Regions from separate parts of the Homo sapiens genome. Here regions 2, 3, 4 and 5 are each linked to region 1. The links are contacts of gene promoters, found by promoter capture Hi-C in blood cells and fetal thymus (Javierre and others, 2016). All regions are on one chromosome and are shown on one strand. The core of a region is centred on a gene start or on the middle of the fragment in contact, and the rest is flanking DNA. Distances in the headings are between cores, read along the strand shown. Region 1 holds the start of SLIT1-AS1 (SLIT1 antisense RNA 1). Region 2 overlaps TLL2 (tolloid like 2). Region 3 overlaps TLL2 (tolloid like 2). Region 4 overlaps TLL2 (tolloid like 2). Region 5 overlaps TLL2 (tolloid like 2).

Region 1 (5,674 bases), core at 845-3,344:
TGGGAGGCATGACATCCCTCTGGGGATGCATGAGGGATGAATTCATGGAGAAGGTGGCCTTTGAGATGGGTTGTGACGTTGGGTAGGACTTCAGGAGGTGCTGAGAGGAGGAAGGAACTTGCACAGGTGAAAGCAAAGACGAGGGAAGATGTGTGGATTCAGGGAGAGGGAGGCTGTAGCTGGGCACGTGTGGTGGGGTGGGGGCTGGAGGTGTGGATTGGGCCTTGTTACAGGGGCTTGCATCCAAGAGTGAAGGGTCTGGGATGTGTCAGTAGGCAGAGGGGTGTTATTGAAGGGTTCTGAGTGGGCACGTACATTTGCTTGTGTGTGGAGTGACCGGATAGAAACTGAGGTGTATAACAGTTGCTGATGTTAATTGAACACTTACTACATGCAAGGCATGTTCCTACTGCCTTACGTGCATCATTTTCTAAATGTAGGTCACTCTTCTGTTTGGAACCCTCTGATGGCTACTGCTTCATCACAGTGATATCCAAAGTCCCTACCCTTGACTACTTTTCCCCTTTCTCACTCCAGCGACCCTGGACTCCTTGCTTTTCCATGAACACTAAGCATATTCCTGCTTCTGGACCTTGGCACTGACTGTTCTCTGTGCCTAGAATACTCCTTCTCCCAGACACCCATGGGGCTCACTCCCTTCTTCCTTTAGGTCTTTGATCAAAGGCCTTCCCTGCCACCTAGAAAAAGGTAACTCCCACTCGGCACCCCCAGTGCTTTTACCCCTCACCTGCTTGATTCTTCTCTGTAGTACTCACCTCCACCCGCTACCCCACAGAATATGAGCTCCACGGGGCAGGGCTGTGTTCCTTGCTGTATCCCCGCCGCAGGAACAAGGCCACCTGATGCACAGGGGTGCTCAGCAGGTAGTTACTGCATGAGTGACTGTTCTGCAGTCTGCACTCCCGCCGTGGGAGTTGCCTGTCATCATCCTCATCTTGCAGACAAGGAAACCAAGTTGAAGGTCAAGTAACTGGCCAAGGTCACCTGCTGGGAATGGCTGGAGACTGCCTACCTCTGACCCTACCGTGTAACCACATCGCCTTGTCATGGTTGTGACTGGGCAACAACACTCACATCTCTGTCCTAGGGGCTGTGTGAGGTTTTTTTCCAGCTTTATTTTGAACAATGTTTTTGTTAGAAGGTACTTCATTCCCAGAGGGTTCATTAATTGAGGGCGTTGCACTTTGAAGAAATCGCTGTCTAACTTGGGTCTGGAAATCACACTGTGCGCTTTTCAGATGTGCTAAAATAAACGTTTAGAGAAGAAAAAAGGAGTCTGATTGTTGTAAAAATTAGGCAGTTTGGGGAGAGAGCTGGAAGCTTGTTAAAATCCTCACCAAGGGGCCTTGGAAGTCGTTACTAAGGAGACCAATGGTGGGTTCCTTTCTGGTTAGCCGGTGGGAGGGCCTCAGGAATTGCTTGGAAGCTGCTGCTGGGAAAAAGAGTGTTGGGGGTTTTCAGCAGATGTGTGGCCCCAACTCCAGCATGGCTTTGTCCTGATCTGTCCTGCTGCAAAGAGAGGGGAAGCAAGAGACCCTGTTTGGATCTTGGAGAAGGCCAGTGGCGTTACCTTACAGCAGCAGAAATGAGGAAGCACCCGACTCCCCATCTCATTGCCCCTCCCAGGCATGCAGCCAGCCCTCTCTTGGACTCCCTGATGTACTCGCACCTATCCCTGCTGAACGCTTGCTATTGGAGAGCTGCCCATACGGTCTCACCTGCATGAGTGAAGCTGCTCATCAGTTCTTCCGTGCACCAAGCCCAACCTGCTGTCCTGGGACTTGTAAACCCTGGTCACCTGGCCTAGATCTGCCTCCCTTAGAGTATTCAGAGAAGCAGTTAGCTTCCCCCTGTGCCCTTGATTTTGATGGTAGCTCAGACTCTGAGCACTTGCCAGGGACCTGGTGATTGCCAGCTTCTCACATTTAGGATCCATGCACATCCTTACATCACAGTGGAGATATGGAAACGAGTTCCAGAAAACTGACCGCACTTGGTCCTGGAGCTGCTAATGAAGAGTGGGCATACAGACCCAGGTTTGTGGGCCCCCAGGCCTTGTGCTCCCTGGACACTGTATATAAGCAGGTCTCCCAACCTGGTGGCTGCACTGTGACATCACACAACAGTGCACATTGAGCTTGCTGTCATCTACGACTCAGTACCCTGAGCTGCTGCTGAGCCAGGCCTCCCCCATCCACCCCGTGACACTATTACAGAGTGATCATGGCAGCATGTCACACACACATCCTGTGAAGGACAGTCTGCGATGGCCTCTGATGGTGTCCAGAGTGAGCTTTGGCAGTCTCTAAGGTTGTCACCTTTGCGTGTCCCTGCAGTGCCTCCCCGCAGTGCCTCACAGCTTTTTTTTTTCTTTTTTCTTTCTTTCTTTCTTTTTTTTTTTTTTTTGACGGAGTCTTACTCATTCTGTTGCCCAGACTGGAGTGTAATGGTGCAATCTTGGCTCATTGCAACCTCCGCCTCCTGGATTCAAGCGACTCTCCTGCTTCAGCCTCCTAAGTAGCTGGGACTACAGGTGCTCGCCGCCATGCTTGGGAATTTTTGTATTTTTAGTAGAGACAGGGTTTCACCACGTTGGCCAGGCTGGTCTTGAACTCCTGACCTCAGGTGATCTACCTGCCTCAGCCTCCCAAAGTGCTGGGATTACAGGCGTAAGCCACCGCGCCCGGCCACCTCACAGGTTTTAACGTGCATCTACATCACCCTGGGATCTTGTGTCAATGCAGGTCCTGATTCAGTAGGTTCAGGAGGAGCCTGATTCTGCTCGTCCAAGCTGCCAGGTGAGGCTGACCCTGCCGGTCCACGACCACCCTTTGAGAAGTGACATTTGATCCCAGGAAAATAGGGATCACCCTGAGGGCAGGATCCCAGCTGGGTTAGGAGCAATTAGTATTTTCCAAGATCCATGACACTCCTGAATTTAATGATAGTCCAGGCCAGTCCCAACAGTGATCAGACCATGGGAGAGATATTTAGTTTTACTGACTGTGACTCAAGAGGCGTTGTGGCTCAACACACCAGACATGCAAACTCATATCCACCCCCAGAGCAGGGCTGGTGCTGCCTGGTACAGGGGCCATGCTTTGGTTGCTCATAGCCAGTCCAGGCTGCTGTCTGAGGCCAGGAGGCATGTGCAGCACATCCTCCCTGGCACAGCTATCAGAGGAGGGCAGGCCCTAAACCCATAACCTGCTGACTGCAATGGCTCTGTGACACGACATTGCTCCCAGCAGCAAGGTGGGCGGGGGCGATGGGAAGAGCACCAGCTAACAAGCTGCGTGAGTCCAGAGAAGGCACTTGACCTCTCTGGGCTTTCTTGTCATCTGCCAGAAGAGAGGGTTGAACATGTTCATGTTTAAATTCCCCCAGGGTCTGATTTCCTTTGTGTGAGCACTCCGCCACTAGGGGTTCTTTGGCTGGCAAGAGAAACTAGAGAAGTTTTGCTTCCAGGAGGGGAGAGGTAAGTACAGCCTTCTGCTCCCCGAGAGGTTGTCCTGGGCGTGAGTGCAGCAGTGTTCTGGGTTGTCTGGGGAGGAGCGCTCCATCCAATAGGAAGAGGAGCCAGGAAGCTGGTTCTGGTGACTCCCTCTCTATTCTCCTCTGCAGACACTCCATCTGTGTCCCCAGGGGGGCCTATGACTCTCTTCCACCTGTATCTGGTCTCCTTGCGAGGCTTCTGAATGTGCCTTTGGGATTTACTCTCCCTCCCTAGTGCTGGGTGGCCTCCACAGTCCCCTTGGGGACACTGGCAACGTTAAGGGCTCAGTGCCAGCAGGAAGGGGTTCAGCTTCATTGATGCACAGAGAGGTCCATTCCCTTACTGTTTTCTGCTCTTGTAGGTGGGCAGACTATACCCATGGGGCCCAAACCGGCCTGCGTCTGCACCGTCCCTAGAAATACGCAGCAGCACTTTTCCTCCCCTCCCTGAGCAAGCCAGGGAGCCCTGTGGCTTCCAGGGCATTTGCCCTTGTGGTCACCTAAGGCCGAGGCAGCGGCGTACCAACGGGTGGCAGTGGGAGCCCCTCCTTGGTGGGGAGCAGTATTGTATCACTGACATGCCTTAAAATTGCCGATGTGTGATGCTAATGAAAATGAACTGACTTTTATTATTGGTTTTATTGTTATGGTCATTATTTTAATGAATGAATAACAATTATTGTTTCAATTTTTTTTTTTTTGAGACAGAGTCTCGCTGTTGCCCAGGCTGTAGTGCAGTGATGCGACTTGGCTCACTGCAGCCTCTGCCTCCCGGGTTAAAGTGATTCTCCTGCTTCAGCCTCCTGAGTAGCTGGGATTACAGGTGTGTGCCACCATGCCTGGCTAATTTTTTTTCTTTTTTTTGTATTTTTTGTAGAGACAGCGTTTCACCATGTTGGCCAGGCTGGACTTGAACTCCTGGCCTCAAGTGATCCTCCTGCCTTGGCCTCCCAAAGTGTTGAGATTACAGGCATGAGCCACTGCACCCGGCCAAAAATTTTATTATTGCTGTACAATCAATGCATCTCTTGCTGGCTGCACACAGGTGAACCACTCCTGCTGTGCCTTCCCTGCGGGGCTGATGGTCCCCTCATCCACTCCCTGCATGCCGGGTCCCAGCTCAGTGACTTGGGAAGGGGCGTATTCATGTCAAACATGTTTCTGAGTCAAAGTCTCTGTGCTGTATCAATCCAAGAGCCAGCAGGAAGGGTCTCCAACACTAGAACACTTCCTGACTCAAATCGTGTGACATCATGTCACTTATTGTCAATGGGGAGATGCCTGGATTCAAATATTATGTCTTCTAGGGTGATGGAAGTGAGAAAATTGGTTCTCTGGCCACACTCTAAGTATATATTGTCAGAAGATTTTAAATACAGATAAGACATTTAATTATTAAATGGCTTTTCAACGTGAGGCTCAAATGGAGCCTTCTAATTAGCTGTCAGTTCTGTCACAGCCATGACTAGTGTGCCCTGGGCTGGCTTCTCTCCTGATTTTCATGTATAAATTCCATTTCATGGTAACCAGACACTGCGGGGGCACTGCCCGGGGTCTCTGGCCTCCCCTGGGCGAGAAGGTACCATAGCTTCCCTCTCCTTCTGGGACTGCCTTTCCCTGCTCCTAGGTCAGGGCAGGGGACCATCAAGCTGGATTTACTCGAAAAGGATAAGTGAAAGGAAAGACTGGAAGCACCCCGCTCCCTGCACACCTGACACACACGTATGTACACATGCAGAGAAAGGGGGCCAGGCCACAGGCAGAGATGGACACTAGGTGAGCCAGCAGCAGCCAGAGACAGACAGATGGACACCTACCCAGATGTACAACAGATCCAGGAGCTTCTCCTCCTGTCCACTGCCTGCTGTCCCCCACCCCCCCAACCTGGAGTCTTTTTCTCTTTGTGCAATTTTGACTTTTAGAAACTCCGAGGTGGCTGCAGCCCCACTCAGCTGTGTTGAGCCTGCTGCTCTGGGTGGCCGACCTGAGGCAGGCCAGCCTGGTGCGGTGGTGCCTGTGCTGCCTGCATCTCTTCCTTGGGACTCTTCCTGAGATCTCAGGCCCTCCTGTGACTTCAGCCTTCCCTTTTCCCCAGGAATCCCCACATCAAGCCCTGGCCCCTCTCTTCGTCCTGTCTCACGTTCCCAATGGCCTGAGG
Region 2 (5,674 bases), core at 2,068-4,567, 740 kb after region 1:
TGGGAGACACATCATAATGGTGACCCTGGAGCTCGGTGATTCATGGTGCATCCTTTACTGTCAGAAGGACCTAAGCTTGGGTCCCGCCTACCTGCGAGAACTTGAGTCTCAGTTTCCTGAAGTGAAAAATGGGGATAGTACCTGCCTTATAAGGTTGCTGTAAAGTTTACATAAGATCTGGAATTGCCTAGTGCAGCACCTGACCCACCTGCATACTTAATAAATAATAGATTCTATATGAGCTATGCACCTAGGATCATCTTTGGAAGAGCAGGGCCTGCAAAGCTCCCTGGAGCAGAATTTGCAATGTTTTCTTTTGAAAAGGAGCTTGTTTGGATGCCCTTCAGAGTCTCTGGTACCAGAGACACATCCTGTGTCCTTGCATAAGATCCTGTCCCATCCTCCTCATTTTCAACTCCAATCACAGCTAAAGTCCTTCTCGTTTCCCTTTCTCCTTTCCTCAGCCATTAGAAGAAATCTACTCTGCAGGTGATTCCCTGATGATTCGATTCCGCACAGATGACACCATCAACAAGAAAGGCTTTCATGCCCGATACACCAGCACCAAGTTCCAGGATGCCCTGCACATGAAGAAATAGTGCTGATGTTCTTGAAAGACAGAAACTGAGAATTTTTTTTGTTTTGTTTTGTTTTTAACAACAATAGCACCTTGAAAATCTGCCCTAAAACAGTGTACAGTATTTTTCTCAAACAAAAACTCAGAATCCAGCCTTAGAGGTATATATTTGAATGAAAGTCTTGTAAGTTTGGCCAACAAGGTGGAGAGAAAAATGTTCTTTTGCTTCTGTCTGCAATGTTATCATTCATGAACTGTTAAAGTGTTAAAGATTAGGATTGAAGTCACTGACCATTCCGGCTATGCTTCTTCATACCATTCTCCTTGTCCCTTGCTCCTATGTGGCAAAAGGTCAGCCTTGGGGTTGGCCGTTCCTCTAATCTGGACTTGCTTGCAAAGGTGCCAGGCTGTCTTCTGTCCATGTTGGGCATAAGGGATGAAAACTTGGCCGAGACTAATGTGTGGCCCACAGCTTTGGCTGGAATCATTTTCTTTCTCTCTGCCAGGGACATGTCAACCAAGAAACCTGAAAATATGGATGGATGTCAGGACTAAAAAAAGGCATCACAGTGAGCAGTGAGCACAGAGGGAGTTTCGAGTATAAGAATCATTGTCATGAAGTTAGGAGACCACAAAGCCATTTCTCAGAGTCATTCACTCTCCTTGTCCCTTTGGTTTCCCCCCCTCCCTAATTGCAGTGGGGGCTAAGGCATCCATTATGAATACAGCAGAACATTTGCTGGCGAGAGTCCTGTCTGCTGAGAAGACAATATTGTGGCTCGTCCTGATATTTTTTTCATTCATTGACTTTGAGAAGACTCCACCTGTGCTTGGAATTCCATGGGCTTCAAAGAACATTTCTTCTTTTAGCTTTGGAGGCACTTGCCGTGGCACACCTGGACTCCTTGACATCCAATTCAAACTGCATTTGCAAAATGTGCAAAGACCTCTTATGAGGGACCAATTCAGGTCCCTTATGGGGTGAACACTGTTGAAGACTGGTTAATTATAAGTTATGTAAGAATCATCGCCTTGTGGAACAAGTCAATCAGTGACTAGCTTCCTGTAGCCAATCAGGTTAAAGAGTGCGTTGGTAACTTTGCTCTGATTAACTAGTATTCAATCACCAACTTGCAAACAGAATTCATAACACTTGGCACTTGTTCTAGAGAAGTGTAGAGGATGATGTTTACATAATTTTAGCACCTCAAGGTATAATTTAAACAGTGAGGTAGTTTTGAATGGCATTTCATTAAGGCATCTATGGGCATTATGAGCTAAAAGCTGTGGTATGTTAGCTTTAAAAGAGTATTTATGTTGGAATAATTTTTAAATAATGTTTACATAACTGTAAGTCCTGTTTGGTTGTTGTTGGACGCAGGGCGGCACATGAGTGTTTTTGGTTAGAGCCAAGATAGCTCCCATGCACCGGAATTCCTTTGGGATGAATCAGCATCATTTTAAACAAAGTATATGTAAAAGGTGAAAGGTTATATTTTTTACAGATCAGAATGTGGCACCAGAGGACTGTGTCTCATTAAAGTGATTGCTGGGAGCAAAAACTAGAATGATACAAAGAAAGGTCAGAGAAATGCATGGGAATATTTTTTCCTTAAAACAGAAAAAAATTAAAGTATTATTAATAATATATGTCTGTATATATGTATGTATGTAAAAGATCAGCTGTCAAAGCCTTAATCAATGCAGTGTGGAAAATGCCAACCCCTGGTCCTCGCTTTACTGTGGGCCCTGCAGGACTGGCTCTCCATTTCCTGCCTCTCCTTTCACCAAGCTCTGTTTTGGCCTTTCTCGGCCCTGGACTGAGGCTCAGCCTACACGCTCATATTGTGCATATGGCAGACCCTGCCCAGCGTGCGCTTTGATACAGCAAATGGAGCAGCTGACCTCATGGCTCCAATCCCACCTGCCTGTTAGGGTAGATTCCATTTATCTGATTTTTGTATTTTCTGAGGTTTTATTTGGTCTCATCTTGTCTATGAGAGTTGAAACTGGAACTGGGAAACCTAAGATGGGTGTTATGGTTCTTTCTCCAAGGAAATAAAAATTCTGCAGTTTTAACCTTTAGAAGTCTAAGCAAGATTAACAAATTTCATAGAAAAGTGGGAGGGAGTCAGAAACAGAGTTGGTGCTGCTCAGCAGGACGGTGAAACAATGATACTTCTTTTTATCTCTTTAGTATGAACATTTTCAAAAACACACAGCTTCAACAATTGTCACCATATGGCCAATTTGCAACAATGGGACTCTTATGAAAAACCTTTATTTAGGCCTTCTGTGTGACGTATCCACAGAAAAGAGAAGCTCTGATTCAGCTGGGGCTAGCTGGGCCGCTCCTCTGGAAGCCCACACTTGTGGGGACTTAGGCATGACACAGGTTCTTGCAAAGAAACTAGAGGCTGGCTTCACTAGAGAGAGTCCATTCAGCAGAAAGTCCCAGGCCTCTGCCTTGGTGCTTCCAATTATCAGTGACCTGCCTGCAAGCATCCCCAGAAGCAAACAGCAGAGGTAGAAGATATCACTGCAGCCTGCTTTGTGCTTTAATTGGGTACCAAGCTTTGGGGATGACAGTGAGTTGCAAGAATAGTTTTAGTTCAGAGAATTGTCTTAGGACAACAGGCTAATGAAGGATTTGGGGTCTGGGTTTTTAGCCTGGCTCCGTTCTGGTGTAACCCGGTCTAGCAAAAGCTAAGCCTGGATTGCAGGGCAGGAAAAAATCTGGAATTAACTTTAGCCAGTGGAATTTCTTCAAACAGAGAAAGAGAGGCTGTTCATTGATCCACTATTCCCTCTATTTTCCTCTAAGGTAAATATTTAGAGGTATTTACCTGTAAGGTGAAGTTTCCTTTTTATTTCTACTTTACAATTTCTCTCTAAAGCAAGCTTGTCCAACCCTTGGCCCAGGACGGCTTTGAATATGGCCCGACACAAATTCGTAAACTTTTTAAAAAACATTGTAAGATTCTTTCTGTGATTTTTTTTTTTCTCGTCAGCTATCGTTAGTGTATTTTATGTGTGGCCCAAGATAATTCTTCTTCCAATGTGGCCCAGGGAAGCCAAAAGATGGGACACCCCTGCTGTAAAGTTTCATATCACTCATGAATTGCTCAGCTGATTTAAATAATTTGTAAAATCCTGCTAACTAGCAAATTCACATTGAGATTTTCTATTGATTGGGTCCCTTTGATAGCTTTCAGATTGGTATTGTTAGCGTTCCATTTGTGAACAAATGTTCCCTTGGCTTTAGCAGATGTTTTTAAAGTTTCTTTTGTAGACCGAACTTCTGAAGAGTAATACCAAATGCCTAAAATTTTATTTTTAAAAAGGAAAATTGTTTAAAGTATTATATGTAAACATATGGGTATTTTTTATTTTGTGTAATTTTACATTTCATGAAATGATGTCAGTTTCAAAGAGAAAGTGGAGAGGACCTAACATATGTCTCTACCTAGAACGGATGGTTTCATTAAAGAATGTGGATTTATTGATGTGTCTTGGGTTTGTATTGCTAATTCAGACCAGATGGGTCCTTTTAGTGCTAATTTTCTCCAATATCACAAGAGCTTGGGAGAGAGTACTAAAAGGGGGCCCTTCTCTACAGCCTTCCACTCTCTGGTTAGTATCCAAGTACTCCAGAACAGAGTTCACTAATGGACCCAGAAAGTCATGAGCAAAGCTAAAGATGGCTTTCAAATTTGTTCCCTTTCTTACACCAAAACAAGCTGAAAATCTTACAACCTAATTGTGAAGATGTCTGCTGCCGAAACCATCCAGATGTGGTAGACATCTTCCATTTGCCCCTCAGCTCCCATCGCCACCCTCCTCTATCTGGACATTTGTCTGAGGACTACATCTGACACCCGAGACTGAAGGTTATGGCTCCCAGTAGGTGAACACTACTGGGAGTGTTCCAGGCCTCCCCACTGGGGGCCCTGGAAGTTCCTCCTTCCACTTTCCACTTCAGGCTTAGGGGTGGTAATGACACCCTGCTTGTCTAACCTTGGGGTACTGCACTTCCCTCAAGGGAAACCTTTATAGGTAGTCATTTTAATAAACACTTTTCAAATGTAGTAATGAGTGTACATTACTTGTCTCCTGCAGGGAACCTGACTGATACAGGGTTATTTCTAACACAAAGACAGGGACTCCATCTGATAAGGGACACCCTCTTCAGGTTGATTAGATGAAGAGGCTTTGGGGTATGTTTGGAGTTTTGTGGGTTATATTACAGAACGGTAATTATACAACTGTGTTTTTAGAAGCACTCAGATTGCTCTCAGTGCAAAATCCTTTAACACATGCAGTTGTTTTGTGCTATACATAGTCTCAAGATTTTGACTTTTCTGCCCATTTGCAGTCACCAATTACATAGAGTTGATAGATAAATAATTGATAGATGATAAATAGATGATATAGGTAGATAGGTAGATAGATAGATGATAGAAAAAGAGAGAAAAAGAAAGAAAGAGAAAAAGAGACAAAGAAAAAGAAAGAATGAAAGAAGAAAGAACAAAAAAGGAGAAAGAAAGGAAGAAAGAAAGAAAGGAAAGAAAGAGAAGAAAGACAGAAAGAAAGACAGACAGAAAGAAAGAAAGCAGGCTATAGATCTTCAGCAAGGTTTATCTTCTATAGCTAACGGTGAGTCCCAGTGGTGCAAGGGCATGAATGCTGGTATATCAGTCAGCATGGGCTAGCTTATGCTGCAACAACTATCCCCCAAATCTCAGGGGCTTTATATAAGATTTATTTCTTGTCCACACTACACATTCATTTCTGGTCATCTGGAAACTCTTCCATATCATCCTCAGTCAGGACCAGGCTGATGAAGCAGCAGCATCAGAACATTGCTGGGTTTTATAATACAGGGAAAGAAAGGGTGGCACATGACACACTGGCTCTTAAAACTACCTGGAAATGATATATTACTTCTACTCATTTCATTGATCACAGCAAGTCACATGGATGTCCTTAACTTCATGACAAGAACAAGGCAAACTAGCAACATTGGTGGGCAGCAGTAATGACTCTCACATGTGACATTTGTAGATAGGAAAATGACTATAATTCTTCTGTTTGTTC
Region 3 (5,674 bases), core at 2,232-4,731, 720 kb after region 1:
CTTCTCTTGGCAGAGCCTACCCCAGCTAACAAGGTGTTCCTGCTCGTGTTGTCAGTGTCCTGCCTTCACTGTAGCTGCTGCCTGGTTTTCAGAGGTGGACATGGCACTCTTTGGGAGGTGGTCACCAGGAGTGGCTCCTGTTTATTAGAGGACACTTGCTGGTGACACTGGGATATGCAAGGGTTGGGAACAGCCAGGAGGCTTCCTGACAATGTAACCGGGGTCACCTTCCTTCCCCACCAGAGGTGGATGAGTGTTCCTGGCCAGATCACGGCGGGTGCGAGCATCGCTGTGTGAACACGCTGGGCAGCTACAAGTGTGCCTGTGACCCTGGCTACGAGCTGGCCGCCGATAAGAAGATGTGTGAAGGTTGGTGTGGGACCTGCCAAGCTAGAATGAGAGGGTATATGGGACAAGTCTTTGGGGAAGTGGGGCAGAGATGGGGCAACCAGCTGGCTGTGTAGGAACGATGGGCAATGGGCAGACATGGTGGAAGACCCACCTACTTCCTAGAAGGAGAAACAGCCTGACAGCTGTCACAAATGTCAGAAAACTGCCCAAATTACATAGACTCTGCCCTAGAGACTGAAATCAAGGCCATGGTTTTTCTTCTATGATTGTGTGAAATTGACATGATTATTAAAGTAGGAAACAAAAGCAAAGAAAAACTGTGAGCACTCCAGTGACTCAACCGATAGCACTTTTCATCCATCCTATTTCTACCTGGCTTGTGTTCCATCTTCCTTGTCCACGTGCATGAATCCGCTTGTTCATGCAAGCTTGGTATGGTGAGTAGCTTGCTGCAAACATTTCTAATTCTCCTTTGGCCCAAGCCATAGGGAGCCCCCAGCTCTGCCACTGGGTGAAAGGAAAGCACAAATGCATTCATTGTTTTTAAAAGCAGTAAAGATTTATCCCCAATTTTGTTCCTTCAAATATTCAGTTGAAACCATTAGTTTTGAACAAAGGACACTGAATTAATCAGTTCAAATTGTCTAACATTTTAAAATTATTACAGAACAGCAAGGCTCTATTGCTCCTGGTGGGAAATCACAGTCACCTGGAGCCAAAGCCAAATGAATCCTGTTTCTGTTTCCCCCGTGCAGTGGCCTGTGGCGGTTTCATTACCAAGCTGAATGGAACCATCACCAGCCCTGGGTGGCCGAAGGAGTATCCCACAAACAAAAACTGTGTCTGGCAGGTGGTGGCCCCCGCTCAGTACCGGATCTCCCTTCAGTTTGAAGTGTTTGAACTGGAAGGCAATGACGTATGTCTCCATGCTCTAATTGATTGGGGACTGTATTGAGGGGTGACTCAGAGCTGGAAACCAGTGAGGGGCTGGGAGGGCAGGGAGATGGCTTGTGTTGACTGAAGCTTTGGACAGTCTTAGGACCTGCGCTAGCAGAATCTGGGGGAATGTTTTCTCCAGCAGTTTCAGCCGCACGCCCTCTGCAGATAGAGCACCTCCGGCCCTCTTGTCGCTGATACATCCAAGGAGAATCAGGACAAGAGTGGAAGAGGCAGATATTGGGGGTGGGAGGTGTCAGGACTGGGCTGTGAGTCTGGGGAGCTGGTGTGCAGCTGAGGCGAATAAAGGGGGTGAGAATCAGCTAGGGACAAGGATGCTACAGACAGCCTGTTTCCTCTTTCGGGCAGTGATCATGGATGATCAAGTCAGTTGAGGTCCAGGCAGCACCCTACAGCTGGAGTGCTAGTCAGGCATGCCTACGTCTGCACCTTAGGCTGGAAGGACACCCTGGGGCACACAAGCCATTCCTGAGACTCCCCTCCCCACCCCAGCTGAGCTGGGGGTCTCACCTTGAGAATAGTACTGGTGTAGCTCTCACCTGATCAGGCCTTTGGGGTACTGGAAGGAGACCTCAATGCTGATGACCCCAATGCATGGAGGCCATGGCGCCCATGAGGGTGTCACCCCAAAGTGAATATTGTGCAGAAAAAAATAATCCTTGAAAGCAATTGATAAGACCCCTTAGCAGTGAAGTTCTTTTTGAGAAAAATCATTGCTACAGCAAGGAACATGAATTCTAGTCCTAGCTCCACCACTGCTGAGCTATGTGACTTCAGACAAATGTCTTTCCCCCTCTGAGCTTGTTTCCCTGCCTGAAAATGGAGTCAGATTCTGTCGGTGGTTTGCAGGATTTTCCTCCTCCTCTTCCTCTTGCTTCTCCCTCATCCTCTTCTCCTTATTTTTCTTCTCCTTCTAGCAGTGGGGCCCTTTCTTCAAGTAAAATTTCATGTGGAAGCCTAATATATAAAATAAATTAAAGCAAGGCTACAATTACGGGGATGCAGGTTTGGGAGCCCTGTGCTCTTGTGCCAGGCGATGGCACCCCCACAGAGCCTCAGTGGGAGAGCCAGGGGTCCCCCTGTGCCCTCTGGAGCTCATTCAAATAACCGGCGTAGCAAGAGTCAAGGGACCCTCCCCCGCCACACACGGTAGGGTGAGGCGCTCAGGAAGCAGGTGCAGCAGTGTGCTGGGGGTCTGGGGTGGGGACAGGGACTCTGGGAAGCTCCCCATCATGCTCCCTTGCAGGTCTGTAAGTACGACTTTGTAGAGGTGCGCAGCGGCCTGTCCCCCGACGCCAAGCTGCACGGCAGGTTCTGCGGCTCTGAGACGCCGGAGGTCATCACCTCGCAGAGCAACAACATGCGCGTGGAGTTCAAGTCCGACAACACCGTCTCCAAGCGCGGCTTCAGGGCCCACTTCTTCTCAGGTATGCGGGTTCAGAGGTGAGGCTGATGCAGCGCGAGTGAGGCGGCTTTGCAGACTCCAGGCTCTGGGGTCCCTGGCCCCCTCCTCTCTCTCTTTGCTTGCTCCTGCATCCCTCCAGGTATGGCTGCCTTGGAGGGGGCGTGCCAGATCCAGGGCTTTTATATATCTATTGGTGGCTGTGTTAGTTTCCTAGGGCTGCCATAACAAATTACCACAAACTGGTTGGTTTAACACAACAGAATCTTATTCTTACAGTTCTGGGGGCCAGAATTCCAAAATCCAGGTGTTCGCAGGGCCATGCTGCCTCGGAAAGTTCTAGGGTAGAATCCCTCCCTGCCTCTTCCTAGCCTGTGGTGGCTCCCAGCAGTCCTTGGCATTCCTTGCCTTGTAGCTGCATCATCCTGATCTCTGTCTCCATCTTCACATGCCCTTCCTTCTTCTCTGGGTCTCTGTGTCCCCTCCTTTTCCTAGAAGGACTCCAGTCATTGGATTTAGGGTTGATCCTAAATCCAAGATGATTTCATCTCAAGATTCTTAACTAATAGTTCTGCAGAGACACTATTTCCAAGTAAGATCACATTCTAAGGTTCCACATTGTATTAGTCTGTTTTCACAACATACCTGAGACTGAGTAATTGATAAAGAAAAAGAGGTTTAGGCCGGGCGTGGTGGCTCATGCCTGTAATCCCAGCACTTTGGGAGGCCGAGGCGGGCAGATCACTAGGTCAGGAGTTCTAGACCAGCCTGGCCAACATGGTGAAACGCCGTCTCTACTAAAAATACAAAAAAAAAAAAAAAAATTAGCCGGGCGTGGTGGTGTGTGCCTGTAATCCCAGCTACTCGTGAGGCTGAAGCAGGAGAATCGCTTGAACACAGGAGGTGGAGGTTGCAGTGAGCCAAGATGGTGCCATGGCATTCCAGCCTGGGTGACAGAGCAAGACTCCATCTCGGGGCAAAAAATAAAAAATAAAAAATGAAGAAAAAGAGGTTTAATGGACTTACAGTTTCACATGGCTGGGGAGGCCTCACAATCATGGCAGAAGGCAAAGGCATGTCTTACATGGCTGCAGACAATACAGAATGAGAGCCAAGTGAAGGGGGAAACCCCTTATAAAATCATCAGATCTCGTGAGACTTATTCACCACCACAAGAACAGTATGGGGGAAACCGCCTCCATGATTCAATTCTCTCCCACCGGGTTCCTCCCACAACACGTGGGAATTATGGGAGCTACAATTCAAGATGAGATTTGGGTAGGGACACTGCCAAACCATATCACACATGAACAGGAATTTTGGGAAGACACTACTAAACCCACTACAGCAGCACATTGGACCCTACTTCTCAAACTGAAGGCCATGAACCCTCAGGGCCAGTACAGCAGCTGTAGAAAAAGCCCATTCTCCTTAGCGTGGCATGTGGTGCTGGACACTGCCTTGGCCCACCTGTTCTGCCAGCCACATTCCCTCTGCAGGTGCCCTGTGCTCTGATCACGAATAATCCCCCCACTGTTCCCCCACACCATCACCTTCTACTCCTAAACCCCCATCCCATTCTGTCTTCATACCCTCTGCCTGTGGCGTTCCCTCTCCCTGGAATATCCTTCTTCCCTCCCTCCTTAGGAAACTCCTACTTCAACCTGAAGACCCACAATGCCACTTTCTGTAACATTCTCTGGCTTCGTCTTATTCCTCTATCTTAGTCCATTTTGTCTGGCTTCGTCTTATTCCTCTATCTTAGTCCATTTTGTGCTGCTATGACAGAGTACCACAGACTAGGTAATTTATAGTGAACAGAAATGTATTTGGCTTATGAATCTGGAGGCTGGGAAGTCCAAAATCAAGGGGGAACATCTGGCAAATGCCTTCTTGCTGTGTCATAACAAGGTGAAAGGCACCACATGGGTGAGAAAGAGCGGCAAGGGGGTCAAACTCATCCTTTGTCAGGACGCCACTCCTGCAATAATGAGCTCTCATGACCTAATCACATTTAAGGGCCTCATCTCTCAACACTGTTGCATTGGGGATTAAGTTTATAACACATGAACTTTGGGGGACCCATTCAAACCGTAGCACCCTCTTAGCACATTGATTGTTCTTTTACCAGTGTTCCCATAGCACTCTCTCCTTCCCTTCCATTAGGGCTCTTGTCACCAGGGGCCAGCTCCATGGGCCTGTGGCCTGTGCAATAGCACAGAGCCTGTTCTCGGAAGGGCCCACACTAATTTAAGGTTCTGTTGTCATCATCTTGAAATTCATGGCCGGGCATGGTGGCTCATGCCTGTAATTCCAGCACTTTGGGAGGCCAAGGCGGGTGGATCACGAGGTCAAGAGATCGAGACCATCCTGCCCAACGTGGTGAAACCCCGTCTCTACTAAAAATGCAAAAAATAAGCTGGGCGCGCTGGCGCATGTGTAGTCCCAGCTACTCGGGAGGCTGAGGCAGGAGAATCGCTTGAGCCAGGGAGGCAGAGGTTGGGTGACAGAGCAAGATGCCGTCTCAAAAAAAAAAAGAAAGAAATTCATAATAGTGTTTCAACAAAGTGCAAATCTTGCACTGAGCCTTGCAAACTGTGTAGCAGGTCCTGCATGTCACGTCATATTAGAGGGTGAACTGTTTACAAGCAGGAACTGTACTTTGGTTATCTTTATAGTCTTAATGCTTGGCATAGAAATGACCCAATTATTTGTTGATTTTATAGATACCCAGAGTTCCATCTCCATGCATTTTTTTTTTGGCAGTCTCTCACTGAGCAAGTCATGTTTTTTGTTTTGAGTGTCTGCTGTGGGCACAGTACACTACTAGGCTCAGAGCTGCTGCCAGGGAAATGACCCCAACCCTGGACAAGCTTACATGCCAGCTAGGGAGCCAGGAATACACACCCTGCTAAGTCCCAGCCTGGAGCACTGTGGGGTGGGCTGGTGCAACAAGGGCTAATG
Region 4 (5,674 bases), core at 1,581-4,080, 700 kb after region 1:
ACAGTCCCCTCAATAGCACAGTGATGTGTGTATTGTGTTACAGATGAGGAAACTAGAGGGCAAGTATTTCCCCAAGACTCCAGAGCTAGTAGATGGAGCTGAGAAGCAAATCCAGATCTAGGTAGATCTAAAGACACCGGCTCTAGAATCATTATAAGACAGAGGGTGGGGCGTTCCAAAGAGGCAAAGATCAATCGTGTTCATCAGGGCAATCAGACACAGGCTCGAGGAGGGGGACACTTGAGCAGGCCTGGGAAGGGTTTCTCTGACATGGGACTGTCAGGGAACACTGGGAAACAGGTTGCACAGGACAGGCTCTGGGGGTGTGGAAAGTAAGCAGAATTTAATTCATGAGATGGGGGCACAGAGAGCCACTGAGGTTTCCTGAGGGGTTTGGTCAACATGATATATGGGTGGAAGATTGGGAGGGGTCTGGTAAACATGAGATATGAGTGGAATATTGATCTAGAAGCCCCAGTGTGTAGAAAAAATGGGGCCACAGCAGGGAGGAGTCCAGGAATCGTGTGGGAGCAATCCAGGAGGGGGTGAGGCAGGAGGAGCGAGATGGGGTTAGAGGGGAGGGATGCGGATATCTTAAAAAGAGCTGCAGCATGGATGCTGAACAGATATGGGGGATCAACAGTAAGGATGAAGGAAAGATAATACCAAAGCTTGGCTCCTTGACCATCGGGGCAATGGCATCTCCTACAGTGGAGGAGGCTGGAAAGGAAATGCTTTGTTTGGAGGTGCTCTCACCTAGTAGGGAGCGGGAAGGGCAGAGGAGCAAGAGCAGTGGGGAGAAGATAGGCCAGTGTGGTGAAAACCAGAAAGGATAAGCTCTGGGCAGAGGGGTCATGGGGCACAAGGCCAAATAACAGTCCTTTAGATTTGGTGGGGAGGGAATGGGAACCTTTGAGGAAGCCTTCCAGCCTAAGGGTTTACTTAGAGCTAGAGGGCCCCTGGGGCTGTTTGAATATAAAGAAGTGGCTAGTGGAGGGGCAGTGAGTGGAGATGCTGGAGAGAGAGGAACTGCTGAGAGCAAAGTCCTCCGGGGTTGGAAAACGAATAGAGTCAGGGGTGCAGGGGCTGGGTCAGGGCTGGAGATGAGGAAGAGTGGAGACGTGATGGAGCAGGTGTGTGGGGCATGAGGAAAGGTGAGCCTGGGCCAGACAAGCCACTGCACCTCAGGACAGTGGGAGGAGCCACAGGCACCTGGTTTAGTGGAACTTGCGTGGGGGTGAAAGGCCAGGGGAAATCTGAACTCTGCTCTGGGCCATCTGCCAGGGGAGCCCCGAGCTGGTGGGCTGCAGGGGGACCAGAGCCAGTTCACAGGTACAGCACCTGTGTGCTGAGGCCCAGCCCCTGGGACCACCCAGCCCTCCCCTTCCCCCTACTAAGTAGTCACCTATTTGGCCATGGGAGCATCCACTACCTGACCTCAGGGATGTCCAGACAGGGCTGCCAAGATGCTCCTCATGACAATCCCTCTCTTTTCAGTGTTTATACCATAGTGTTCTCATTGGCTTGGCCCATCTGCCTTTCCCCCCTTCTCTGGGCTCCCCAAGGGCAAAGGACCCTGTCTTACTGATCTTTCTATCTCAATTGGCCAGCACAGGCTGACACTCAGAAGGTGGTCAACAAACAATGGTGGAGTGAATGAAAGAATGGACTAACTGTAGGAAGGTCATTAGACACACCACACCTCAGGAGAGTGAGGTCATGGCTGAGGGGAGGTTGATCGCAGAGATGTTCAGATGCACTCGGGCTAACCCCAGACCCTTTGGAATGATTGATGATGTTATAAGATCTTCTTGTATCTCTGAACTTCGCTGACCCCTTACCTCCTTCCAAATCCTCCGTCTCCATGCGCCCTGGCCAGTCTTTTTAATGCATCTCGCTTTCTGTAAACCACCTAGTGACTTCAAAAGCTCAAGTGATTCCCCAGACAGAACCGAAGGACCCATCTCCTTCTGTTTACTCCCCATCCTGCTTAAGGTTTATTATTTAATGTCCTTAGGTTTCCTGTGAGCATGCTTTTGAGACAACACTCCTACCGTGGTCTGAAAGTTCTGCATGCTAAAGGGTAACGTGAGAACACCAGTATGCAAGATATATCTTCCCAAACTCCTCAGGCTTTGCTGCCAAAACTCACTTTATGGTAATTCTTTACAGATCGTATTAAACTTCACATCCATGGATTTGTTTAAAAGCCGACTGTGCTGGTATGATTACGTGGAGGTCCGGGATGGTTACTGGAGAAAAGCCCCCCTTTTGGGTAAGTTGACTTTAGACACCGTTAAGAGAGGAGTGATGGGATGTTCCCCGGGATGCTGTTAATGTCTGGAAGGTCCACCTTGACAGCGGTCACAGGAAACTCTCAAGGGCCTCTGTCATTGTAAAACTCTGAGCACTCCATTTGGCCACACATGTTAAAAGCTTTTAAAACTGCGAATACCCTTTGACCCAGCAATTCCACTTTTTGGAATTCATCCTAGGGAACTAATTAAGGAAGTGTGCAAAGCTCTAGCTACAGGGATGTTCACTGAAGCAGGAAAAATTGCAAGCAATTTAAATGTTCAACAGTAGGGTTTGGCTGAATAAATTATGATCCATCTTTTTAATGGAAAACTTCCCAGCCATTAAAAATGAAGTTGTAGTTGACTACTGATATGGAAAGGTGTTCATGGTACACTGTTACACACAAAAAAGTATGTGACAAAAATAGAATAAGCAGTAGGATTCCATTTTGATTAAAAAATACATTTATGCATTTTATATATATATATATAATGCAGGCATTGCAAATGTAGATGGCTTCAAGGATAACATGTAAATGAAGGAGATGGGATTTGTGTAATAAAATAAGGAGTGGTGGGGGGAGTGTGGTGAACTGAACACCAAATATCGTGTCCAAAATTATTCAAACCAAAATGACTTAAAACATGTGTACAGGCTGAATTAACTAGAAGACACCACTTTGTGATCTGCAATATAAATCTCAAGTAAAATTATAAATATACATAAATAACACACTGGTTATTTCAGGGTGATAGAGTATTTTTTAAATGTATTCTGTTGTTCTTGGTTTAGCTATATTTTCCAGTTTTTCTATGATGAGCGTGTATTGTTTTGGTGAGATGAACAGGGCATGAACTCACCCATGGAAAGTTAGCTTAGAGCTTTGAGTGAGACACAGTGGGCAGGTGGTGTAACAAGAAAGCTTAGTTCACCCCAGAGATGAAGGGGTGGCCTGCCCCTCCACACCTGTGGGTATTTCTAGTCAGGTGGGATGAGAGACTGAGAAAAGAAATAAGACACAGAGACAAAGTATAGAGAAACAACAGTGGGCCCAGGGGACCGGCACTCAGCACACCAAGGACCTGCATCGGCACCGGTCTCTGAGTTCACTCAGTTTTTATTGATTATTATTTTCATTATTTCAGCAAAAAGGAATGTAGTAGGAGAGCAGGGTGATAATAAGGAGAAGGTCAGCAACAAACATGTGAGCAAAAGAATCTATGTCATAATTAAGTTCAAGGGAAGGTACTATGCCTGGATGTGCACGTAGGCCAGATTTATGTTTCTCTCCACCCAAATATCTCAGTGGAGTAAAGAATAACAAGGCAGCATTGCTGCAAACATATCTTGCCTCCCACCACAGGGCAGTTTTTCTCCTATCTCAGAATTGAACAAATGTACAATCGGGTTTTATACCGAGACATTCAGTTCCCAGGGGCAGGCAGGGGACAGTGGTCTTCCTCTATCTCAACTGCAAGAGGCTTTCCTCTTTTACTAATCCACCTCAGCACAGACCCTTTACGGGTGTCGGGCTGGGGGACGGTCAGGTCTTTCTCATCCCACGAGGCCATATTTCAGACTATCACATGGGGAGACAATACCCCGCTTTCAAGGGCAGAGGTGCACTGTGCCCTTGGTTTATTGAGACTAGAGAATGGCGATGACTTTTACCAAGTATACTGCTTGTAAACATTTTGTTAACAAGGCATGTCCTGCGCAGCCCTAGATCCCTTAAACCTCGATTTCATACAACACATGTTTTTGTGAGCTCCAGGTTGGGTCAAAGTAGCTGGGGCAAAGTGTCTGGGGCAAAGCTACAAATTAACAACATCTCAGCAAAGCAATTGTTTAAAGTACAGGTCTTTTCCAAAATGGAGTCTCTTATGTCTTCCCTTTCTACATAGACACAGTAACAGTCTGATCTCTCTTTCTTTTCCCTACATCTCTCGTGGATGACAGGGGAGGTTAGCCTTGCCTAGAGGACCAGTGGCTGCAGTGTCTCGGGAGTAGACACTAGGACTCATTCAGCCCAGGAATGGCAGCCGTGGTGGAGCTGGTGAGACAGGCAGAAGTGACCAGGAGCCAGATGGGAGGGTCTCAGCTGAGAGTGTATTGTCCTCACTCGTAGAGGGGTCTGTAGGGTGGGCTCTGGCTTGGACAAGTCTAAGCGCTCAGTGAGGACTTTGTCCTTGGCACATATTCATGTGAGCAGAAAGCCCAACTTGTTATGCTGCAACTGACGAGCCTGAGAGTGAGCTGGTATCGGGTGGTTGGCCAAGATGGAGATAGGAAAGAAGGGAGAGGGCTAAACTGTGGGGTGTCACTGCTAGACCGAGCCCTGACTTCATGCCAGATTCTGGGGAGCCAAGGCTGAGGTAGGTCAGAAGAGGCTGGACAGAGGGGTTGGCTGGACTCAAGGTAGCCTGGCAGACATTAATCTTTCGTATGACTGAGGGGTCCCAGGCTGCCGGCATTAGAAGAAGTCAGTCAGGTAGTCAGCTGTCCAGGTAGACAAGCGAAGAAAGTGATCCCCAGGCCAAGTACGGACAGGAGCACGTCTACTGCAGGACCAGTGGAGTCCGCCCCACAGTGGCAGGGCGGAGGATGCCTGCCTGGATTTCTGTTTCCTGCCTACTATGAGCAGGCATGGCGCTCTCTAGCAGCCAGAAGGAGGGTCTGGCTTTACAGGTAGCACTGTTTGCTTGTGGCAAAAGACAGAGGGCTGGATTCCCAGTAGCAGAGGTTCCCAAACCTGGCTGGACATCAGAACCTCCTGGGAAGATTTCTATGAATACAGATTCCTGGGAGACCGTGAATTGGAATCCCCACAAATTGGGTCAGAGAATGATCCTATTTACCTTTATATAAAAGGGCATGTGCCCAAATCTAGTACCACAAATGTAGAAAGGACCACAAATATGCCCATCTAACTGCTGAAGGTGATTACCTCTGAGGAAGGAAGCGCGGAGGTGGTGGGCAGCTTCAAATTTTGTTTTGTATACTTCTCCATTGTTTGAATCTTTTGTAAGAACACATTCAGGTATCATTCTATAATGAAATAATAAAAAGAGCTATGTGGGAGGAGTTTCGTGAGAACATCGGATCACAGACCCTGCAACCTGGCAGAGACATTACAGTCACTTAATCCCACACTTTTATGAGAAAACCAAGCTCCCCAAGTGTGGACTAACTCAAAGTCCACACAGTTAGTGGCTGAGATCAGACCAGAATTCTGATGTCCTGGTGAAGGGGAGAGGTGACTGCTGAACCCAAGGGGTGCCAGATAAAATACATTATTTGTTGTTTATCCGAAATTCAAATGTACTGGGCTTCCTTGAGTTTTGTTTGCTAAATCTGGCAACTCTCTACCCCCACC
Region 5 (5,674 bases), core at 930-3,429, 670 kb after region 1:
AAAATAGAAATTATAAACCACTACAGACTTTTGTTCCTTGGTATCCTAACTGTGTTCTTTCAGATCTGGTGTGCTTTTCTGACCAAAGATTTATATTACTTTCATCAAAGTTAACTAATTTTATATATAGGAATTTTGTTGACACAAGTATTTCATGTTATTAGATAATTAGTAGGGTTGCTATTTTTGGTGAGCGATTGAGCTATAAACAATTTGAACAAAAAATGTCAAGATGTCAGAAAAAAAATGGACAGTTAAGTTATTCTATTTTTTGTTGTTGTTGTTTGTTTCTTCTTTCTTTCTTTTATTTTTTTGAGACAGGGTCTTACTCTGTTGCCCAGGCTGCAGTGCAGTGGCATGATCACGTCTCACTGCAGCCTCAACCTTCCAGGCTCAAGCGATCCTCCCACTTCAGCCTCCTGAGTAGCTGAGACTACAGGCGTGTGCCACCAAGCCCAGCTAATTTTTTCTTCTTAAGTGTTTGTAGAGACAGGGTTTCACCATGTTGCCCAGGCTGGTCTCAAACTCCTGAGCTTAAGGGATCCACCTGCCTTGGCCTTCCAAAGTGCTGGGATTACAGACATGAATCACCATGCCCAGCTGTTATTCTTTATTCTATATGAATGTTTTTGGGGACAACAATATGATACCATCCCCACATCCTGCAGACAATGATGGGAGCCTCCCCCAGTGCTGTTGTGCTAGTCCATTTGTGTTGCTCTAAAGGAATACCTGAGGCTGGGTAGTTTCTAAGGAAAAGAAGTTTGTTTTGGCTCACGGCTCTGTAGGCTGTCTGAGAAGCATGGTGGCAGCATATCTGCTCCTGGTGAGGCCTCAGGAAGCTTGCAATCATGGCGGAAGGCAACAGGAAGCCAGAACATCACATGGTGGGAGGGAGCAAGAGAGAGGTGGGGTAGGTACCACACACTTTTAAACAACCAAATCTCTCATGAACTCAGAGCGAGAGCTCATTCACCAAGGGGATGGCACTAAGCCCTTCTTGAGGGACCCATCCCCATGACCCAAACACCTCCCACCAGGCCCACCTCCAACACTGGGATTATGTTTCAAAACGAGATCTGAAGGGGACAAACATCCAAGTGATGTCAGCTGTTTTGTTTTGCTTGTAATTTTTGTTTTTGTTTTGCAATGAGGGCCCTGTAGAACTCAGACCTCCAACTCCCACCATCCTTCATACTTCCCAGACAACTATTTTTTCCTAGATCCTTCTCATTGCTTCTAGGAAAATTTAAACAGTCTTCCTTCTAGATTTTGAAAAGAACTGACTGACTATACGTAACTGTCAGCCTGGAGTTTTATTATTCAGCAAATTTCCACTCAAGGAAATACCAAGACAGGTTCAGAGAAAGTATGAAGTTCACCTATTTTCAAAGGCCTGGAAGAAAAATTAGGCTCAAGGATTCCCCACAAGACACTGAAACCCCGTGCAAAAGTACACAGATGTACATGCAAATAGAAATTTTAAAGTGCATGGGAGCACCCCCCTACAGGTCTAAAAGAAAATGAGGGGGCGAAGTGCAGTGCTGGTGAGCTGGAGTTGACTCCCCCCTACTTCAAAAGCCTGCAGTTTCCAAATCGAAAAACCTGGATAAGGTTTTGTAAAAGTTTGGAAAATACTTTCAATACAAAGGAAAATTTGGGAAGCCCAGGATATTTTGAAAATCTATTTTTACCCTCCCTTCCAATCCACAAACTCCTACTCTCTAGGTTTTGGCAGCTCAGAAAAGTTACGTTGTGTTTTTAGCAAGGGAAATCCTGATTCCTGAAAATTCCTGGAGTATTTCTATTCTGAACAAGCTTTTTTTTTTTTTGAAAATATTTAATTGACAAATAAAAATTGTATATATTCAAGGTATACAACATGAAGATTTGATATATTATGTCTCGATCACCATAATCAAATTAATTAGCACATCCATCACCACCCATGCTTACATTGGGGGCTGGTGAGGACACAAAATCTGTTCTTTTATCAAATTTCAAGTAAACAATACAGTATTATTAACAATCTTTTTTTTTAATTGTTGGAACATCCTTTGTCTTAACTCAGCATGCTTTAAAGCATCTAAGGAGGCTGGGTGCCGTGGCTCATGCATGTAATCCCAGCACTTTGGGAGGCTGAGGCTGGCGGATCACCTGAGGTCAGGAGTCAAGACTAGCCTGACCAACATGGAGAAACCCCATCTCTACTAAAAATACAAAATTAGCCGGGCGTGGTGGCACATGCCTATAATTTCAGCTACTGGGGAGGCTGAGGCAGGAGAATCGCTTGAACCCAGGAGGCAGAAGTTGCAGTGAGCCGAGATCGCACTATTGCACTCCAGCCTGGGCAACAAAGGCAAAACTCCGTCTTGAAAGAAAAAAAAAAGCATCTAAAGAAAATATGGACCCATCATTGAAGTCGAGTGCTTGCCCTGTTGTTTCAGGGAGCCAGAGGGCCATTTTTAAGCAGGCCATGAGACACTGGGAGAAGCACACCTGTGTGACCTTCATAGAAAGGACGGATGAGGAAAGCTTTATTGTATTCAGTTACAGAACCTGTGGGTAAGTAAACGAAAGCGAGGCCACCTCTGCAGAATCAGTCGGATGGCTCATGAGTGTTGAATTTTCTCTGTAAACCTAAGTATTTCCAATGAGCTGTTATTTAGAGGAGTCCAGGGTTTGCTAGAAACTTTCTGCCCTTGGTGAAATTACAATCCAGTGGCAAAGCTGATGGGCCAAGAGGAAGATTCCAGGAGACTCCATGAAGACCAGGGGTACTGGCACTAGAAGAGCAACAGAAGGAACTGGTGGTGTGTCATGTGAAGACTTAAGGCAGTGGTTCTTAACCTCTTGGGGTTTGTGTCCCCATTTAGAATCTGATGAAGCGGTGGGCTTTCCTTCTTCAAGAATAGATGAATATGTATGTAAAATTTTGCATTTAATTTGAGGGATTCTACAGGTTTACAAACTTCCTTCAGAAAACATAATATGTAATAAAATGACTGGCTTATGACTAAAGTTATCTGTTATGTCAATAAATATGTATGATATACTTTCCTACTGAAAAGCTTCTCATGTTGGATCAAAAACCCAAACCCGGCCAGGAGCGGTGAGTCACGCCTGTAATCCCAGCAGTTTGGGAGGCTGAGGTGGGCAGATCACCTTAGGTCGGGAGTTCCAGACCAGCCTGACCAACAATGGTGAAACCCCATCTCTACTAAAAATACAAAATTAGCCAGGTGTGGTGGCACATGCCTGTAATCCCAGCTACCTGGGAGGCTGAGACAGGAGAATCGCTTGGAGCTGGGAGGCAGAGATTGCAGTGAGCCGAGATCCCGCCATTGCACTCCAGCCTGGGCAACAAGAGCAAAACTGCATCTCAGAAAGAAAACAAAACAAAACAACAACAACAAAAAAAACCAAACCCAACTACATGGTCTATACATAAGATGATTACTGAATAAAACAACCTAGAGAGGTTTAAAAGTAAAAGGAAAGAAGCCATACAGGTAAATGCTAACAAAAAGAAAGCTGGGATCACAATTTTAGTCATTGACTAGGTTTTCATTGTTTTGTTGTTTTTGTTTTTAAAGTCAGAAAATGTTAAAAGCTGAGACACTTTATAATGAGAAAGGGTATAAGGGACAGTGAGAATATAACTGTCATAAGTCTTCATGCACCAAATAGCATAGCATCAAGAGTCATAAAACAAGCCCCAGGGAATTCAAGGGGAAATTGACAGAAATGCTCAGTAGCACGAGACTTAATTCATTTCTGTCAGCCCAAGTAAGTCAGTGTCACGTTGACCAAAAAATAAGTAGAGATTCACAGAGGATTTGAAAAATACAGTTAATAGAGTTGATTCTATAGGTCTATCAGATTCTATAACCTCATAACACATTTTTTTAAATGGCCCATCTATTAAGCATTAAGAACATCTTAACAAATTCTTAAAGGCAGAAATAGCATTAAGATATTTTCTGATTGCAAAGCAGTGAAACTGGACATAACATAATAACAAAAATAGAATAAACATTAGCTGGTAAGTTAAAAGTCCCCCCATGCTTCCATTTTTATGGCTCTTAGGTCATAAAAACAGCAAGATTAAAATTGCAGAATGTCTAGGTAATGAAAGCCCTATGGTTCAAAATAAAAGAGATATAGCTAAAGCTATGTCTGGACAAAAGCCCACAGACTTAAGTATCCACATCACCCGTTGACAATAGTGACAATGAAATATTCAATTCAAAGAAGCTAGTAAAAATAAATACTTACAACCCACCACCATCACCACAACAAAATAAACCTAAGGAGAGCACAAGGAAACAGACAAGGTGAAACATTACAGAGCTAACAAATTCAAGAGTAAATTATTTGAATAAACAAACAAACAGAAAACAACAGATAAACCACTTGTTAGTTTAATTGAGACAAAATATGATTACATAGAAATACATAAGATTAGAAATGAAAATGGGAGAAATAGCCACAGATTCAGCAGAATCACAAAGGAGTAGTTTGCAAAACTCTAGGGCAAGAAGTGTGAAAATGTGGATAATGTGAAAGTCTTCAAGGTAAAAATAAAGTACTGGTACAGACCAAGAACTTTGAATGAAATTGAAGAACGGAGGGAAAAAGCCATCTCCCACAAAGCACCAGACCCAGAGTTTCACAGGTGAATTCTTTCAAAACTTCAAAAACAGATTATTCTGGTATACTTAAACTTTTTAGAGCATAGAGAAAGATGAACGCTTTCAAATTACTTTTGAGGAACTGTTATGGCATTGCTACCTTGAAATGAAAAGGATGGCACCAAATAAATAGAGAAAGAAAGGAAAACATGATAAAAAAGATAAGAAAGAAAAAATTATAGACTCATCTCACATGTGAATAGCCATGCAAAATCCTAAATAAAATGTTAGCACATAGAATTCGGCAGCAGAAGAAAAGAAGAGGAGACTGCCAAATACATTTATCTAGGGAATACAAGATTAGTTCAACATTAGGAAATCTATTCTCAAGATTGATTGGTCAAAGAAGAGAAGCTATATTCATATCTCAATAGATGCTAAAAGGCACCTGTACAATACAACATGCAGTTTTTGTTTTAAAAAAGTAACCAAGGTAGCACAGAAATAGATGTCAAGGATAGATTCTTGCATTATATATATGTAAGTATAAATATACATTTATATAAATAACTTCCAACCAAAAGCCAATATCATGTTTATCGATGATACTTCTAGAAGCATTTAATTTTAGTTAAAATCATGAACAAGTTTAAGATGTTTAGGGTTACCACAATTATTTAGCATTGTTTTGGAATTGCTAATTAATATAAATTAGACAAGAGAAAGAAAGAAAAACTGTGAATATTGGCAGGAACAAGGCAATGTTTGCACTGATGGGAGGTAAAGTGACTGTGTGCCTAGAAACCCCAGAATATCAATTGAAAAGCTGTTAGAAACACAAGGAGACTCTATTAAGTGACCACAAAATTAATTAATTAACAAGAATAGGTGACTGCTTTTCTTTATACATGAAATAGTTTGATACACTTTTATGATGGGAAAAAATCACAACTTTAATAGAAACATAATAGATACTATATCTAAGACTAAACATAAATGTGCCAGACCTATAGGAAGAAAATGCTAAAACTCCAAGGAAC

Evidence for each region. Contacts are between HindIII fragments. The CHiCAGO score rates a contact against its expected background, and 5 or more counts as called.
Region 2: a fragment that was not itself captured here is called in contact with the fragment with the promoter of SLIT1-AS1 in region 1 in 1 of 17 cell types (erythroblasts); the score reaches 5.5 in erythroblasts.
Region 3: a contact is called between a fragment that was not itself captured here and the fragment with the promoter of SLIT1-AS1 in region 1, in 1 of 17 cell types (naive B cells). The highest score is 5.2, in naive B cells.
Region 4: a fragment that was not itself captured here is called in contact with the fragment with the promoter of SLIT1-AS1 in region 1 in 2 of 17 cell types (erythroblasts and naive B cells); the score reaches 5.7 in erythroblasts.
Region 5: a contact is called between a fragment that was not itself captured here and the fragment with the promoter of SLIT1-AS1 in region 1, in 1 of 17 cell types (erythroblasts). The highest score is 5.8, in erythroblasts.

What each region holds. Positions count from the first base shown.
Region 1 is chr10:97,099,176-97,104,849 of GRCh38, reverse strand. SLIT1-AS1 (SLIT1 antisense RNA 1) reads right to left here and starts at 2,094. Exons shown (of 3, transcript NR_038330.1): 1 at 1,740-2,094; 2 at 1,359-1,530; 3 at 1,103-1,264. All of the region lies in intron 4 of SLIT1 (slit guidance ligand 1), which reads left to right. RefSeq lists enhancers at 2,722-3,584, 3,585-4,449. The HindIII fragment of the contact is 6,968 bases long and covers 1,344-5,674 here.
Region 2 is chr10:96,363,013-96,368,686 of GRCh38, reverse strand. TLL2 (tolloid like 2) reads left to right here. Exons shown (of 21, transcript NM_012465.4): 21 at 465-4,079. The coding sequence ends at 599. Among named protein-coding and RNA genes, the nearest start is that of OPALIN, 6.8 kb to the right of the region's middle. The HindIII fragment of the contact is 327 bases long and covers 3,154-3,480 here.
Region 3 is chr10:96,381,648-96,387,321 of GRCh38, reverse strand. TLL2 (tolloid like 2) reads left to right here. Exons shown (of 21, transcript NM_012465.4): 14 at 244-369; 15 at 1,107-1,267; 16 at 2,555-2,735. Among named protein-coding and RNA genes, the nearest start is that of OPALIN, 25 kb to the right of the region's middle. The HindIII fragment of the contact is 4,209 bases long and covers 1,377-5,585 here.
Region 4 is chr10:96,401,833-96,407,506 of GRCh38, reverse strand. It overlaps TLL2 (tolloid like 2), which reads left to right. Exons shown (of 21, transcript NM_012465.4): 10 at 2,173-2,275. Among named protein-coding and RNA genes, the nearest start is that of OPALIN, 46 kb to the right of the region's middle. The HindIII fragment of the contact is 784 bases long and covers 2,439-3,222 here.
Region 5 is chr10:96,425,522-96,431,195 of GRCh38, reverse strand. It overlaps TLL2 (tolloid like 2), which reads left to right. Exons shown (of 21, transcript NM_012465.4): 5 at 2,448-2,565. Among named protein-coding and RNA genes, the nearest start is that of OPALIN, 69 kb to the right of the region's middle. The HindIII fragment of the contact is 717 bases long and covers 1,821-2,537 here.